5 separate regions of the Homo sapiens genome follow, and regions 1, 2, 4 and 5 are each linked to region 3. The links are contacts of gene promoters, found by promoter capture Hi-C in blood cells and fetal thymus (Javierre and others, 2016). All regions are on one chromosome and are shown on one strand. The core of a region is centred on a gene start or on the middle of the fragment in contact, and the rest is flanking DNA. Distances in the headings are between cores, read along the strand shown.

Region 1 (2,700 bases), core at 8-2,507, 300 kb after region 3:
AAGAAAAAAAAGGAAATCCTGCATGCAGATTAAGATTAAGGTCATTGGACTTTGCTGAAATGCCCATTTGAAGCCTGTGTTGTAGAACGGTGGAGTGTGTGTTATGGAAGAGGAGCTCCGCATGGCAGAGCATGAGAGGAGCATGGATAGTGAGGTGTGGGGTGTTACAGAGGTCACAGACACTGGACAGCACAGATTCGGGAGGGGACCATAGGACAGCAGAGCGAGTGCTATAAGGGTCCCAGGACAGGCAAGGTGATTTAAAGAAGGGGAAACACTAGGCAAAATCAAAGGGGTGAAGGGAAGGTGTCTGTAACAAGCAGTTGGGTGCAGTCTGGGGACACACAGGGGACAACACTCGCAGACTGTAGACAGGAAGAAAGGTGGCTCTCAGCAGGGGAGGAAAGTCCTGCCGGGCAGCAGCCTCACCACCTACTGCCACCCTAGGTACTTCCCGAACCACAGCCCTCTGACCCCTGAGGATCCTGAAGGGAGGGCTGTGTGGGCACAAAGCTAATAATAAAAGGGTGTCCAAAGAGGAGGGGGGCCTGAGGCCATGCACAGATGGCAACTTCTGGTCTGACCCACCTTTACTCATCTTCAGGTGAGCCCAGTGGTGGTGTCCTGCCTGGAGTGCCTTCGGGTCCCCGCTGGTGCCTCCTCCTTAGACACACCTGGGCTCGTCAGGGATGCACCCATGAGCGTTTCGGTGGAGGAGGCGCCTGGATGGAGCTCATTCGTGTACAAGTCCCAGTACCGTGAACTAGTAGGAAGACTAAACATAAAACTAGGAGATAATTCCCTGACATTGGGTTAATTTCCTTACCATAAAAAGAATGTATAATTTTGGGCTGGGCGCGGTGACTCATGCATGTAATCCCAGAATTTTGAGAGGCTGAGGCAGGCAGATCACTTGAGTCCAGGAGTTCAAGACCAGCCTGGCCAACACAGTGAAATCCCATTTCTATTAAAAATAGAAAAAATTAGCCAGGTGCAGTGGGGCACACCTGTAACGCCAGCTACTCGGGAGGCAGAGGCATGAGAATCTCTTGAGCGGGAGGTTGCAGTGAGCTGAGATCGCACTCCTATACTCCAGCCTGGATGACAGAGCAAGATTTTGTCTCAAAAAAAAAAAGAAAAAAAAAGTAAGAAAGAAAAGAAAGAATAATTTTGAAGAAGAAAAAGGAAAAAAAGGAGGAGAAGAAAGAGGGCTTGGTTCGGTGTATGCTAAAGAAGTGGTCCCTAGATCAGCAGCAAGGGCTTGCCCTGGAAACTTGTTAGAAATGCACATTCTCAGGCTTGACCCCAGACTTAATGAATCAGAAACTCTGTATTAACAAACCCCGAAGGTAGTTCTAATGCACGATGGAGTTTGAGAACTACAGTTCTAAGGCAATTTCCACTCTATTCCACCCTCATTTCCAAACATTTAGCCATGTTGCTGCTGGAGCCAGGCTGCAGGGTGCCAATTAAAGCCTTAACTTAGGGTTAGAGGGGGGAAGTCCTGGTGTGGAGACCTGGTGAGGAGCTTCCTCACTCTCACTGCATAGAGACCAGCTTTGAAGCACCCAGAGCAGAGAGATCAGGACCATGGGAACACTGGAAGAATGTGACTCAGAGAGCCTTGGCCCTGCAGGGATGCAGTTATGATAGCTTGTTTCCCTGCCCACCAGAAAGCACAGTAGCCACTGAAAGAGATATATGATAACTTAAACAATTAGGAGCACTTAGAGATTCAAGTAGTATGAAAAAAAAAAAAAAAAAAAAAGAGGAAGAAGAAAAGAAAGAAAAAAAAGGAAAAAGAAAGAAACAACTTTTGGGAACTAAAAAAACAACACTTTCAACAACAAAAAAATTAGTATATGTATTGAAAGAGAGAATAGGCACTGCTGAGACTCAAATTAGTGGCTTGGAAGAACAAGTGGAAATAATATTTCAAAGCATGGAGCAAATACTATGAAGAGATGGAAATAATGAGGAAAATGTGATTCTTGGAGAGTAGATCCAGTAGTCCTGAAATTCAACTATATTAGTTCCAAAAGGGGGAAAAGGAATAGATGGAGGAGAAGCAATAAAGAATAGAAGAAAATTTTGCTGACGTGAAGAAATATCTGAGCTTGAAGACTGAAAGGAAACAGGAAGATACAACAAGAAAAGACATACACACAGGCATGAAACTCCCAAACTTCAAGGTTAAAGAAAAACATTTTCAAGTTTTTAGACAGAAAGAGCAAGTTATCTACAAAAGGAAACAAATCACATTGGTATGGGACTTTTCATCTGCAACACTGGAGGCTCAAAGTGGGAAAACTGAGAGAAATAAATGACTACACAGGAATCTTTCTTTCTTTCTTTTTTTTTTTTTTTTTTTGAGATGGAGTCTCGCTCTGTTGCCCAGGTTGGAGTGCGGTGGCACAATCTTGGCTCACTGCGACCTTTGCCCCCTGGGTTCAAGTGATTCTCCTGCCTCAGCTGCCTGAGTAGCCGAGATTACAGGCGTGCACCACCACTCCCGGCTAATTTTTGTATTTTTAATAGAGACGGGGTTTCACCATGTTGGTCAGGCTGGTCTCAAACTCCTGACCTTGTGATCCACCTGCCTCAGCCTCCCAAAGTGCTGGAATTACAGGCGTGAGCCACTGCGCCCGGCCAGGAGTCTTTTATTTATTTTTATTTTAATTTTTTTGAGACTGAGTCTTG
Region 2 (2,700 bases), core at 3-2,502, 330 kb after region 3:
CCCAGCTACCTAGGAGGCTAAGGTGGAAGGGATGAGCCAAGATCACACCACTGCACTCCAGCCTGGAACAACCAGAGTGAGACCCTGTCTCAAAGAAAAAAAAAAAAAAAAAAAAAAAAAAAAAAAAAAGGCTGTGCTACTCCTTTGTAGGTTATCGTTCAGAAAAAGCCCAACACTTTGCCAGCTTCTAACATCCACCACTCCCTCCTCAACCCTCCTCAATTTCCAGCCCCCGCTTCCCACGCTGCTACCACTGCCTCAGATTCTCCCTGCCTGCCGCTCCCACCTGCCCAGCTGTTACTTTCTAGATTCTAAGCCCGATTGCACAGTCCAGTTCCACCCACCACCCCAGGATTACACTTCCCTGTTTCCCCCTCCCTCTAGCATGATCCCCAGTTGTATGGCCATCAGCACTGAGGGTCTAACCGGTCTCTTTGCAGACTGAGACGCTTGAACTCTGCCTTCCTGCCATTGGGATGCCCTCTGCCTTAGTACCCAGGGCAGAAATCTGAAGCACATGTTCAGCACTCAGACCAAGAGTGTGGGCCAAGGTACAAAACTGTCGGATTCTGTCTGGCCTTTGTGTGAGAAGGGTTTGCTGAGAAGTTTCTTCCAGGCTGAGGAAAGGCTAAATAGCTTGGGCTATCACTTAAGCTTTTCCATAAACAAACTCTACTGGAACTTCCTCCTCCGCATCTACATTATACCCTGGTTTTCTGATCCTTCATGCTGTGTCTCTCACACTCAACCCGTCCCTCTAAATTCATGGTGCCCCAAGTGCTGACTTCCTTTTGAGAACAAGGGATAAAGGAAGGGGCCTGCCTGGACCATATTCAGCTTTAAATTTGAGACGAGAAACAGTGGCACAGTCCACAGACAGAAAGTCCCAGAGAGGAAGTTCAATGACCACATCACATCATGACATGGCCTAAGGCTGACGTGGGCCTGATGGGAACTACTGTGTAAACCTCAGCTAACCTGCAGCCTCTGTTTTCTGCCATCTCTCCCACACATACCATCCAAACTGGTCCTGCTGAAATGTGCTCCTGATCCCATAATTCTCTTCTCCTCAAGGATTTCGGGGGCACTTTACTTTTTATTTCTTGGTTTTTAAATTTTACTTTAAGTTCTGGGATGTATGTGCAGAATGTGCAGGTTTGTTACATAGGTAAACATGTGCCACAGTGGTTTGCTGCACCTATCAATCCATCACTTATGTATTTATGTTTTTTGTTTTTCGTTTTTTTTGAGACGGAGTCTGGCTCTGTCGCCCAGGTTGGAGTGCAGTGACGCGAACTCGGCTCACTGCAACCTCTGCCTCCTGGGTTCAGGTGATTCTCCTGCCTCAGCCTCCTGAGTAGCTGGGATTACAGCCACGTGCCACCGTGCCCGGCTAATTTTTGTATTTTTAGTAGAGACGAGGTTTCACCATGTTGATCATGCTGGTCTCCAACTCCTGACCTCATGATCTGCCCGCCTCAGCCTCTCAAAATGCTGGGATTACAGGCATAAGCCACCATGCCCAGTCCATATATTTATGTATTAAACCCCACATGCCTTAGCTATTTGATCTGATGCTCTCCCTCCCCTTGCCCCCCGACCCCACAGGTCCCGGTGTGTGTTATTCCTCGATGTCCTCCCCTACCATAGAACCTGTGCTCCACCTGACATTCAGGGTCCCGTAGACAATGACCCTGAAACACACTCTGCTTCAGTTAGCTGGCTGAATCACCTTCCCCAGAACCCCCTGGTAGTTTCTCATCTTGGGGATTGAAATGGGATAAGGGGAAATGAGGATGAGGCATAATTGGTGCTCAGAGATCATTTCTTCCCCTGAACTCCAAGCTTTCAGCTTACAAGGACCCTCCCTTCACTCCCCTCATCACTAGCCACATTCTTTTTTTTTTGAAACAGGGTCTCACTCTGTCACCCAGGCTGGAGTGCAGTGGCTCAGTCACAGCTCACTGCAGCCTCAACCTCATGGGCTCAAGTAATCCTTCCATTTCAGCCTCCAGAGTAGTTGGGACCACAGCCACGCACCACCACATCTGGCTAATTTTTTAATTTTTTAGGCCAGGTGTGCTTACTCACGCCTGTAATCCCAGCACTTTGGGAGGCCGAGGTGGGCAGATCACCTGAGGTCAGGAATTCGAAACCAGCCTGGTGAAACCAACATGGTGAAACCTCGTCTCTACTAAAAATACAAAAAAATTAGCCTGGCATGATGGCGCATGCCTGTAATCCCAGCTACTTGGGAGGCTGAGGAAGGAGAATTGCTTAAACCCAGGAGGCGGAGGTTGCAGTGAGCTGAGATCACACCATTGTACTCCAGCCTGTGCAACGAGAGCGAAACCCCCCTCAAAAAAGAAAAAAAAGTATTTTATATAGACAGGATCTTATTATTATATTGTCCAGGCTGGACAATATAGGAGCTTGAGCTCCTAGACTCAAGTGATCCTCCCACCTCAGCCTCCCAAAGTACTGGGATTACAGGCATGAGACACCACACCTAGCCCATCATTAACCAAATTCTGGCACCTCTTCCTCACCTACTTGGCCAGTTGACACCCTGCCTTCCTTTTAATTCATCCACATTATTGTGTTGCTATTTTATATTTTTGCTCCTCTTTTCCTGCATCATTTTTCCAGTTAGATTGTGGGTGTTTTGAGAATAGGGCCCCCATTCCTTTTTTATCTCTG
Region 3 (2,700 bases), core at 1-2,500:
TCCCCTCCTGAGAGCTTGCGTCTCAACCCACCCCCACCCTGGTCACAAGACCCCTTATCTCCCAGTCACCAGGGCAACCAACTTCCCAAGGCCAGGAGGAGGAAAGCGTGGGGCGGGAGTAGGGTGAGAACTGGCCCTGGTTCCACCTCTCATCCTAACCTGGGCCCCAGCCCCCATCAGGCTTCAGTACCCTTGGGTGGCTACCTGGGGCAGCCTGGGGACCCTGGGAGCCAGGAGTCCCAGGGCTCCCTGGAGGAGGCAGATGGCTGTAATTGGCATTGCAGAAGTCAGTGCCACAGGAGCAGGTGAAGAGAGTGGAGCCAGGGCTGGGGTGGGCTCGGGGACTTGGGTCACAGTGGAGGGACTCACAGCCTGGCTCATCACTGTCTCGGCATCCTGATGGGATGGGATTAGGGGAAGAGGAGAGAAAGGGGGGGCAAGGAAGAAAGCACAATGGGGTGTGGAAACAGAGGGTAAATCCCTTCTCTATCAGAGGCGTCCCTTCCAGCTCTCATGGGCTTTTCTTTCCCACCAGATGTTCTATTTCTCCCCTTCCCCCTTGGTTGCCACCCACACCCCAGGATGTGTCTGTCTCCCACCCTAGCCATCACCTGCCATATACTTTGCCATTCACCTTGCATTTCCACCTGTGCCCGGTCTTGGGTCAGGTTCCAGATCCCAAAGCAGCAGCGGCTGTAGAGGCAGCGGATAGCTCTGGGGAGCTCTGTGCCTGTATCTAGCAGCTCTCCCAGTGTCTTTGTGCTTCCCCGCACTCCAGGGGCCTCAAAGAACACACAGGTTCGCCTGTTTGGGGGTGCTGAGGCCCAGGGTGGGGAAAGGAAAAGATTCAAGGTGGGAGTGAATGCAGAGGCAAAAAACTGGCCAAAAGAATAGACAAAACATGTTCCACATCCCAGCGTCAGTATGGTAAAGCCACAGGAGGAAGCAGGGTCAGCAGAGGCCTGGAACCTGAGCCCTGCCATGGGGACACATGGCTCTATCCTTCACCCTTACTCACCCAGCCCACTCACCACTCTTCCAAAGGGGTGGCTCTTGCTTCAAGCGCCCCTTTCCCTTGCTGGATGGATGGAGAGACCCTTCCCCTCCCTGTAGACACTTACCTTCCACAGCTGTGGGAAGTAATGCCCAAAGCCCCAAAGACCCTAGCATCTTGCTGGAGGATGGCAGCAGCAGAAGGAGAAGAGCATAAGCCAGCACAGCTGCCCCTGGCCAAATCTTTCTTCAGATACAGGGCATCCTGGGGCTTCTGATCCCTCAGTCCCCAACTCCGCCCCCCTCATCCTATCCCAGCCTCTGTGGGGGAGAAGGCTGCTGTGGGGGAGAGGGTGGGTGTGGGGAAAGCAGGGAAAGAAAGGGAGGAGCAGAGAACCAATCTCATATCCTCTTCTCTTCTGCAACCTCCTCTTTGCTCTGCATAGTGAGAGGAGGGGAACTTGGAGGCCCAGCTGAGAACCCAGTGATGCCTAATTTCAAATCTTTGCCCTTCCCTGACCTTGGAAGAAGATGCTGGACTCTGTTGACTCTTCTCAGGAGGAAACCAATGTGAGGTCAAATGCTTAGAGCCATTCAGCTCTGCCCAAGATCCTTTCTAGCCTAAGATCTCTTTATATTCAGGGTTCATATCTGCAACTGCTTGGGCAGAGGAAGGCCTCACAGCCCATATTAGAGGTTACCTTGTTTTCCAACTTAAGAATCAGAAAGTATACAAAACTTACCTGAATTTTTAAAAAACACATTGAAAACAGTAACAATGGTAAATTTTGCTATGTGGATTTTTTTTTTTTTTTTTTTGAGACGGAGTCTCGCTCTTCTCCCCCAGGCTGGAGTGCAGTGGCACGATCGCAGCTCACTGCAACCTCCGCCTCCTGGGTTCAAGCTATTCTCCTGCCTCAGCCTCCTGAGTAGCTGGGATTACAGGCGCCTGCCACCACACCTGGCTAATTTTTGTATTTTTAGTAGAGACGGGGTTTCACCATGTCAGCCAGGCTAGTCTCGAACTCCTTACCTCAGGTGATTTGCCCGCCTCGGCCTCCCAAAGTGCTGGGATTATAGGCGTGAGCCACCATGCCTAGCCGTGGATTTTACTTAAAAAAAAAAAACACATTGGTTCACAGGCTGAACAAATACCCATTATTAAGGAGGTAACAAATTTCTTATCAAGCACCTACTATGTGCTGGGGCACAGCTAGGGCTATGCATTTTACAATCATCTCATCTAATTCTCCCCTGAAATATTTATTATTATTATTTTATTTATTTATTTTTTGAGACCGAGTGTCGCTCTGTCACCAGGCTAGAGTGCAGTGGTGCCATCTTGGCTCACTGCAACCTCTGACTCCCTGGTTCAAGCGATTCTCCTGCCTCAGCCTCCCGAGTAGCTGGGATTACAGGCACGCACCACCATGTCCAGCTAATTTTTGTATTTTTAGTAGAGACAGGGTTTCACCATGTTGGCCAGGATAGTCTCGATCTCGTGACCTCGTGATCTGCCCGCCTTGGCCTCCCAAAGTGCTGGGATTACAAGTGTGAGCCACTGTGCCTGGCCTATTATTTTTATTATTTCCATTTTATAGGTAAGAAAACTGAACTTACGTAAGTCGCCCAAAGTCATTCAGCTAGGAAATAGCAGAGCTGGAATTTGAACTTAGGCAGGTCTGACTCCAAAGTCCAGGTTCTAGT
Region 4 (2,700 bases), core at 111-2,610, 400 kb after region 3:
GCATTTTGGGAGGTCAAGGCAGGCAGATCATCTGAGGTAAGGAGTTAGAGACCAGCTGGCCAACGTGGTGAAACCCCATCTCTACTAAAAAATACAAAAATTAGCCAGGTGTGGTGGTGCGCATCTGTAATCCCAGCTACTCAGGAGGCTGAGGCATGAGGAACACCCTGAACCTGGCAGGCAGAGGTTGCAGTGAGCCAAGATTGCCACTGCACTCCAGTCTGGGCAACACAGAGAGACTGTGTCAAAACAAAACAAAACAAAACAAAACAAAGAGCTTGTAAATTTAAGTTGGTCTGTTTTTACTTAAACTATTTCAAACATACAGAAAAGTAAAGACACCATTATAACAAACTTATGAACCTATTACTTAGGTTTAGTGAATGTCATATTTTGCCATGTTTGTTTTTTGTTTAAAAGAAATATGTTACAGACTAAAAACAGAATTTTCCCTATCCCCACCAACAATTAAAAGGGTGGTTAAATTACCATGCGTAGCTTTATAATTTTACAACTTATGCATTAATACTACATGGTATTGTTTTCAAATTTATACACAATTTTTTTCCCCTTAATGTAACAGGTTTTGAATTTTATCCCTGTTGTTATGCTATTAAGTATTTGATTACAGACAAACCACTATTTATTTATTTTTACTAGGTAGTAGCTTCTTTCCATTTTAAAAATAGTGTGGTCTACTTTTGTGTATTTTAATAAAGTTGCATAATTTTCCCCATAAAGGTCTTTGTTAAAGTGATGTATGTAATTAATCTCTACTCCTACCCCATGATATTTCCCACTCACCTATCTTTCCGCACCCCAACTGTTTAATTATTCACACACTGTCTCTTCCCTCCACTATAATAATGTATGCCCAATAAAGACAGGATTTTCTTGTTTTTGTTCACTGCTGTATCTTGAGCATTTAAGTGAATCAATTTTTATTAGAAAAAAATTACACTGCTGTATCTTTGTTCACTGCTATATCTTGAGTATTTTTAAAGTGAATCAATATTTTTATTTTAGAAAGTTACATTTTAGGCCAGGTGCAGTGGCTCATGCCTGTAATCCCAGCACTTTGGGAGGCTGAAGCAGGAGGATCACCTGAGGTCAGGAGTTCGAGACCAGCCTGACCAACATGGAGAAACCCCATCTCTACTAAGAATACAAAATTAGCCAGGCATGGTGGCACATGCCTGTAATCCCAGCTACTCGGGAGGCTGAGGCAGGAGAATCGCTTGAACCTAGGAGGCGGAGGTTGAGGTGACCTGAGATCATGCCATTGCACTCCGGCCTGGGCAACAAGAGCGAAACTCTGTCTCAAAAAAAAAAAAAAAAAAAAAATTTTACATTTTAATTGTTTGCTACAAGCATATAGTAATGCAACTGATGGGCCAGGCGCAGTGGCTCACGCCTGTAATCCCAGCACTTTGGGAGGCCAAGGCGGGCGGATCATGAGGTCAAGAGATCAAGACTATCCTGGCCAACATGGTGAAACCCCATCTCTACTAAAAATACAAAAATTAGCTGGGTGTGGTGGCGCGCGCCTGTAGTCCCAGCTACTTGGGAGGCTGAGGCAGGAGAATCACTTGAATCCAGGAGGTGGAGGTTGCAGTGAGCCAAGGTCACGCCACTGCACTCCAGCCTGGGCGACACAGCGAGACTCCGTCTCAAAAATATATATATATATCAAAAAGTAATGCAACTGATCTTTGTATGCTGCTCTTCACTCAGCAATCATGCTGAACTCTTATTTCAAATAGCTCACTTTGTAGAATCTGTTGGATTTTTTTTTTTGAGACAGGGTCTCGCTCTGTCACCCAGTCTAGACCTCCTGGGCTCAAGGAGTCCTCTTGCCTCAGCTTGCTGAACAGCTAGGACTGCAGGTGCGTACCACCACGTCAGCTTTTTCTTTTTCTTTTTGGTAGACAGGGTCTTGTTTTGTCGCCCAGGCTGCTCTCAAACTCCTGGCCTTAAGCAATCCACCTGCCTTGACCTCCCAAAGCGTTGGGATTATAGCCACCATGCCCAGTTTGGGTTTCTTTATAAACAATTGTCTCCAAAAAAAGAGAAATGTCTGTCCCTTTGTTTGGTTAAGTTTTCAAAAAAAATTATTAATTTATCAAATTCGTTTCCTGCATCTATCAGTTCTTTCAGATACTATCCAAAATTTTTCTTAATCTGCTTTCCTCCTTCTATCTGTTAATGTGATCTGATCATCTGTAACACATTTGTCCTATTACTAAATAGCCTCCCAAAGCACAGAGGAAGCTAACTTCATAAAAACAAACTTACTGTCTCCAAAGCTATCATCACCTCTTCTAGGTGGGTAGTCATCAAAGCTGTCTGTAGCAGGACGAGCCCTCCAGTCTGTATCTGTTTTGTCAGAATCCCGATTTCTATCACGGCCAAAAGAACGATCATCCCTGTCTACAGATACATTAAAACAAAAACCGTAAGTTATCTCATAAAAACTTTGCCCAATATTTCTCACACATAGAAAACCCCCATTTTACCCTATTTTTCACTTTCACGTCACACTGTCATCCCAGTTACCTCAGGCCCCATAAGTACATGCTCCAATTCAACCCCAGGTGGCTCTTTTCCTCCCGTTTTTTCCTATTGGTTTAATGCTTAGCTATCTCAAATTCTGTATGGGCCAGGAGTCCCTGAAACATATACAAATTAGGTCCCCTTTGT
Region 5 (2,700 bases), core at 7-2,506, 360 kb after region 3:
GGGTCCCCCACCCAGTTCTGCAATGCTGGGTGGAGAGGGTGGGCTGGGGGCTGCTCTGCCTGGGTGGAGTCTAAACTAGTTAATGTGGATCAAGCCACACCCCTCCTGGCTTCCCGGGGAGAGAGGCAGAGGAGGAACCCAGGCTGAGCAGAGAATACACCATGAACAGAAGTCAAACAGTGTGGCCTTGGGGATGGGCTTAGGTGGTCTCCCGTGCATGCTGCTTTCCCCCTCATCCATCCCCAGTTATCTTTGGAGAGGAGGGAAGGATGGACTTGAGGTGGCGGGGCTGAGATCCAGGGCTGAGAAAGGCACCAAGCCCCTCTAGTCCTACTCTCAGAAGGGGTTAGTAGCACCCCGCTCTAAGCACCTGAGCTAAGCAGCGGCCGTCTGAGGCTGGGAGTGGGGATGCGGGAGCAGCCTCTGCTGGAGACACGCACAGGCTTCTGTGCTGGTGCAGGTGGGCATAATTCCTTTCCTGTTCAGGCAGGAATCTGTGAGAGGTGAGAGGCCGGCGTCCCAAAGCTTGCCAGGGAGACGTGGAGGAGGTCCCTAGGCAACATGTTTCCTTCAGGGCTGCAGGGGTGGGAGGGTAGAAGAAAGTCGTGAGGGGCAGTTGGGCTAATTAAAAGGAGATTAAGGAATCCCAGGTGAGGCCGAAGGTGGGGGAAAGAGGGGATGGGGTTGAGTCATCACCCCACTATTACCATGACAACTGACAAATAAATCCTCCCAGATTGGGGGTTGCCGCCCCGTCGTGCCCAGGCAGGACCATTGTGGGACTGAAGAGCCCCAAGAACCCATCAGTCATCTCCCCTATCCTACCTCCACGCCCCTACTCCAACTTGAATGAGCAATGAGGGGCTGGGAACAGCTAAGCCTGCCTCTGTCTTCATTTTGACCTCTCCTCTCCCTCACATGAAATGAGGGAGTAGAGCTGGGCGTTCTGGGTCCCTGGGCTCCCCTCAGCACCTCCCTGACCCAGCTAAGAACAGCTGTGTTCACAGCCAAGTAAAACAAGGACCTTGAGAAATTATGTCAGGCCCATCCCAGGCAGAATTGGCTTCTGAACTCACCCGCTTCCCCTGAATATCTGGGGTTGGCACCTAACTTCTGCATCCTCCCTGTCCCCATTAGGCCCCCTGAGAAAGTCATCAAGTTTCCTCTCAGCTAGTCTTGCTTCTCCTTTCCCCTGTGTTTGGGACCCTGGGCGGACCTTTCCCAGCAGGAAAGGCTGCAGGGTTTTTCAGCGGGCGAGGATGCATCTAGAGCCCCCTGGTGTGCCGCTCCCCTAGCTGTGCTGCTTTCCCCGGCCTCCCAGAAAGTGTGTGGGGGAAGACAGCGTGGGCATTCAGCAAGGGGTGCTCTCCCCTTTGCCTCCCACCCCATCCTGCTCTTCCATGCTGGCCTAGAACTTTGGGGCCACATTGTATCTCTAGGATTCTTTCCCTTTCAGCCAGGAGTTTTTGTCAGACCTGGGAAAGTGGGACCCAGACTGCCTTGGGCCCAGGTTTCCAGGGTGGGTGTCAGCCTGTCCCCTGACCCCCATCTGGCTCTTCCCCCACAGCTGCTGGAGTACTTAGGGAAGGGCAAAAGCATCGTGGATGTGGGGCTGGCCCAGGCCCGGCACCCACTCAGCACCCGCAGCCACTACTTCGAGGTGGAGATCGTGGACCCTGGAGAGAAATGCTACATCGCCCTGGGGCTGGCACGGAAGGTGGGCACAAAGGCTGAGCTTTTTTGCTCATGGAGCTGCTCAGGTCTGGGGCTGTTGGGGCAGCACCAGGAAGCTCTTAGGAGAAACCAGGGGAGCCCAGGCTTTGGAGGGAGGGTGCTAAGCTGAGATGGAACACAGTTGTATGTGTCTGCTGTGTAAGAGTACACACCCCATGTGACCAAGGACCTGAGACAGGTCATGACTGCACCACACACTAAGGCCTGGGGGGAGGGGGTGGGACATGCCATGGCTCTGGCCTTAAAAGCTTAACTAACACTTTCCTCACCCTCCCTGGTTCCCCTGAAGCCCCAGTGCCTGCAGGGTATGAGTGTGCAGGGTTGGCACTCTCTGGGCTGTGGTCTGTCCCAGAGGTTCAGATGCTACTCGCCACTCTCTCCTGTCTTGTTTATGCATGGGACCATAGATTTTCTTTTCTCTTCTTGGTGCAGGACTATCCCAAGAACAGGCACCCTGGCTGGAGCAGAGGGTCTGTGGCTTATCATGCAGGTGAATAGCGGGCTGCCTGGGAAAGGTGGGATGGTGGGAGATGTGGAGGCATAGGGACATCCACTTTCCCCTCTCCTGGCCCCTCACAAATGGCCTTGCTGTTTGCCCTGCTGCTGGCTGACCTCCCCTTCCCAAATCGCTAGTGCTTCCTCCTCATCTGTGTTTTCCTCCCAGCTCTGGAAACCAGGGGAGCAGGACAGGAGAGGGAGATCTGGGCCCAGATGGGACATTCCAGGCCTCTGAGCTGGTCCCCCCGTGCCCTTCCTGCAGACCCTCATTTCCTCATTTTCTTTTTTCTTTTGCTGCTTGGTTTCCTTGGCTTTCTTTAGAAGAAAACTGAGCCTAGAGTTCCTCGACCCACCTCCCCCTGCCTGCCCTCCCTGGGTGTTCATTCCTTCCCTAGGGCCCCCTCCTCTGACTCATTTCCTAAGGGTTCTCCCTTACCCTTACCTTGAGCAGATGGATACTACGTCTCT

The links. Contacts are between HindIII fragments. The CHiCAGO score rates a contact against its expected background, and 5 or more counts as called.
Region 1: a fragment that was not itself captured here is called in contact with the fragment with the promoter of AMHR2 in region 3 in 1 of 17 cell types (activated CD4 T cells); the score reaches 5.7 in activated CD4 T cells.
Region 2: a contact is called between a fragment that was not itself captured here and the fragment with the promoter of AMHR2 in region 3, in 2 of 17 cell types (monocytes and total B cells). The highest score is 6.2, in monocytes.
Region 4: a contact is called between a fragment that was not itself captured here and the fragment with the promoter of AMHR2 in region 3, in 1 of 17 cell types (neutrophils). The highest score is 6.1, in neutrophils.
Region 5: a fragment that was not itself captured here is called in contact with the fragment with the promoter of AMHR2 in region 3 in 4 of 17 cell types (activated CD4 T cells, fetal thymus, total B cells and 1 more); the score reaches 6.3 in activated CD4 T cells.

The regions. Positions count from the first base shown.
Region 1 is chr12:53,126,767-53,129,466 of GRCh38, reverse strand. No RefSeq gene overlaps it. Among named protein-coding and RNA genes, the nearest start is that of SOAT2, 25 kb to the right of the region's middle. The HindIII fragment of the contact is 6,708 bases long and covers 1-2,700 here.
Region 2 is chr12:53,092,137-53,094,836 of GRCh38, reverse strand. No RefSeq gene overlaps it. Among named protein-coding and RNA genes, the nearest start is that of IGFBP6, 4.2 kb to the left of the region's middle. The HindIII fragment of the contact is 1,191 bases long and covers 657-1,847 here.
Region 3 is chr12:53,422,405-53,425,104 of GRCh38, reverse strand. AMHR2 (anti-Mullerian hormone receptor type 2) reads right to left here and starts at 1,250. Exons shown (of 11, transcript NM_020547.3): 1 at 1,122-1,250; 2 at 635-817; 3 at 205-396. The coding sequence starts at 1,170. The HindIII fragment of the contact is 5,088 bases long and covers 1-2,700 here.
Region 4 is chr12:53,022,223-53,024,922 of GRCh38, reverse strand. EIF4B (eukaryotic translation initiation factor 4B) reads right to left here. Exons shown (of 15, transcript NM_001417.7): 6 at 2,296-2,430. Among named protein-coding and RNA genes, the nearest start is that of EIF4B, 17 kb to the right of the region's middle. The HindIII fragment of the contact is 3,982 bases long and covers 1-2,700 here.
Region 5 is chr12:53,067,172-53,069,871 of GRCh38, reverse strand. SPRYD3 (SPRY domain containing 3) reads left to right here. Exons shown (of 11, transcript NM_032840.3): 7 at 1,568-1,717; 8 at 2,167-2,224. Among named protein-coding and RNA genes, the nearest start is that of SPRYD3, 11 kb to the left of the region's middle. The HindIII fragment of the contact is 1,457 bases long and covers 528-1,984 here.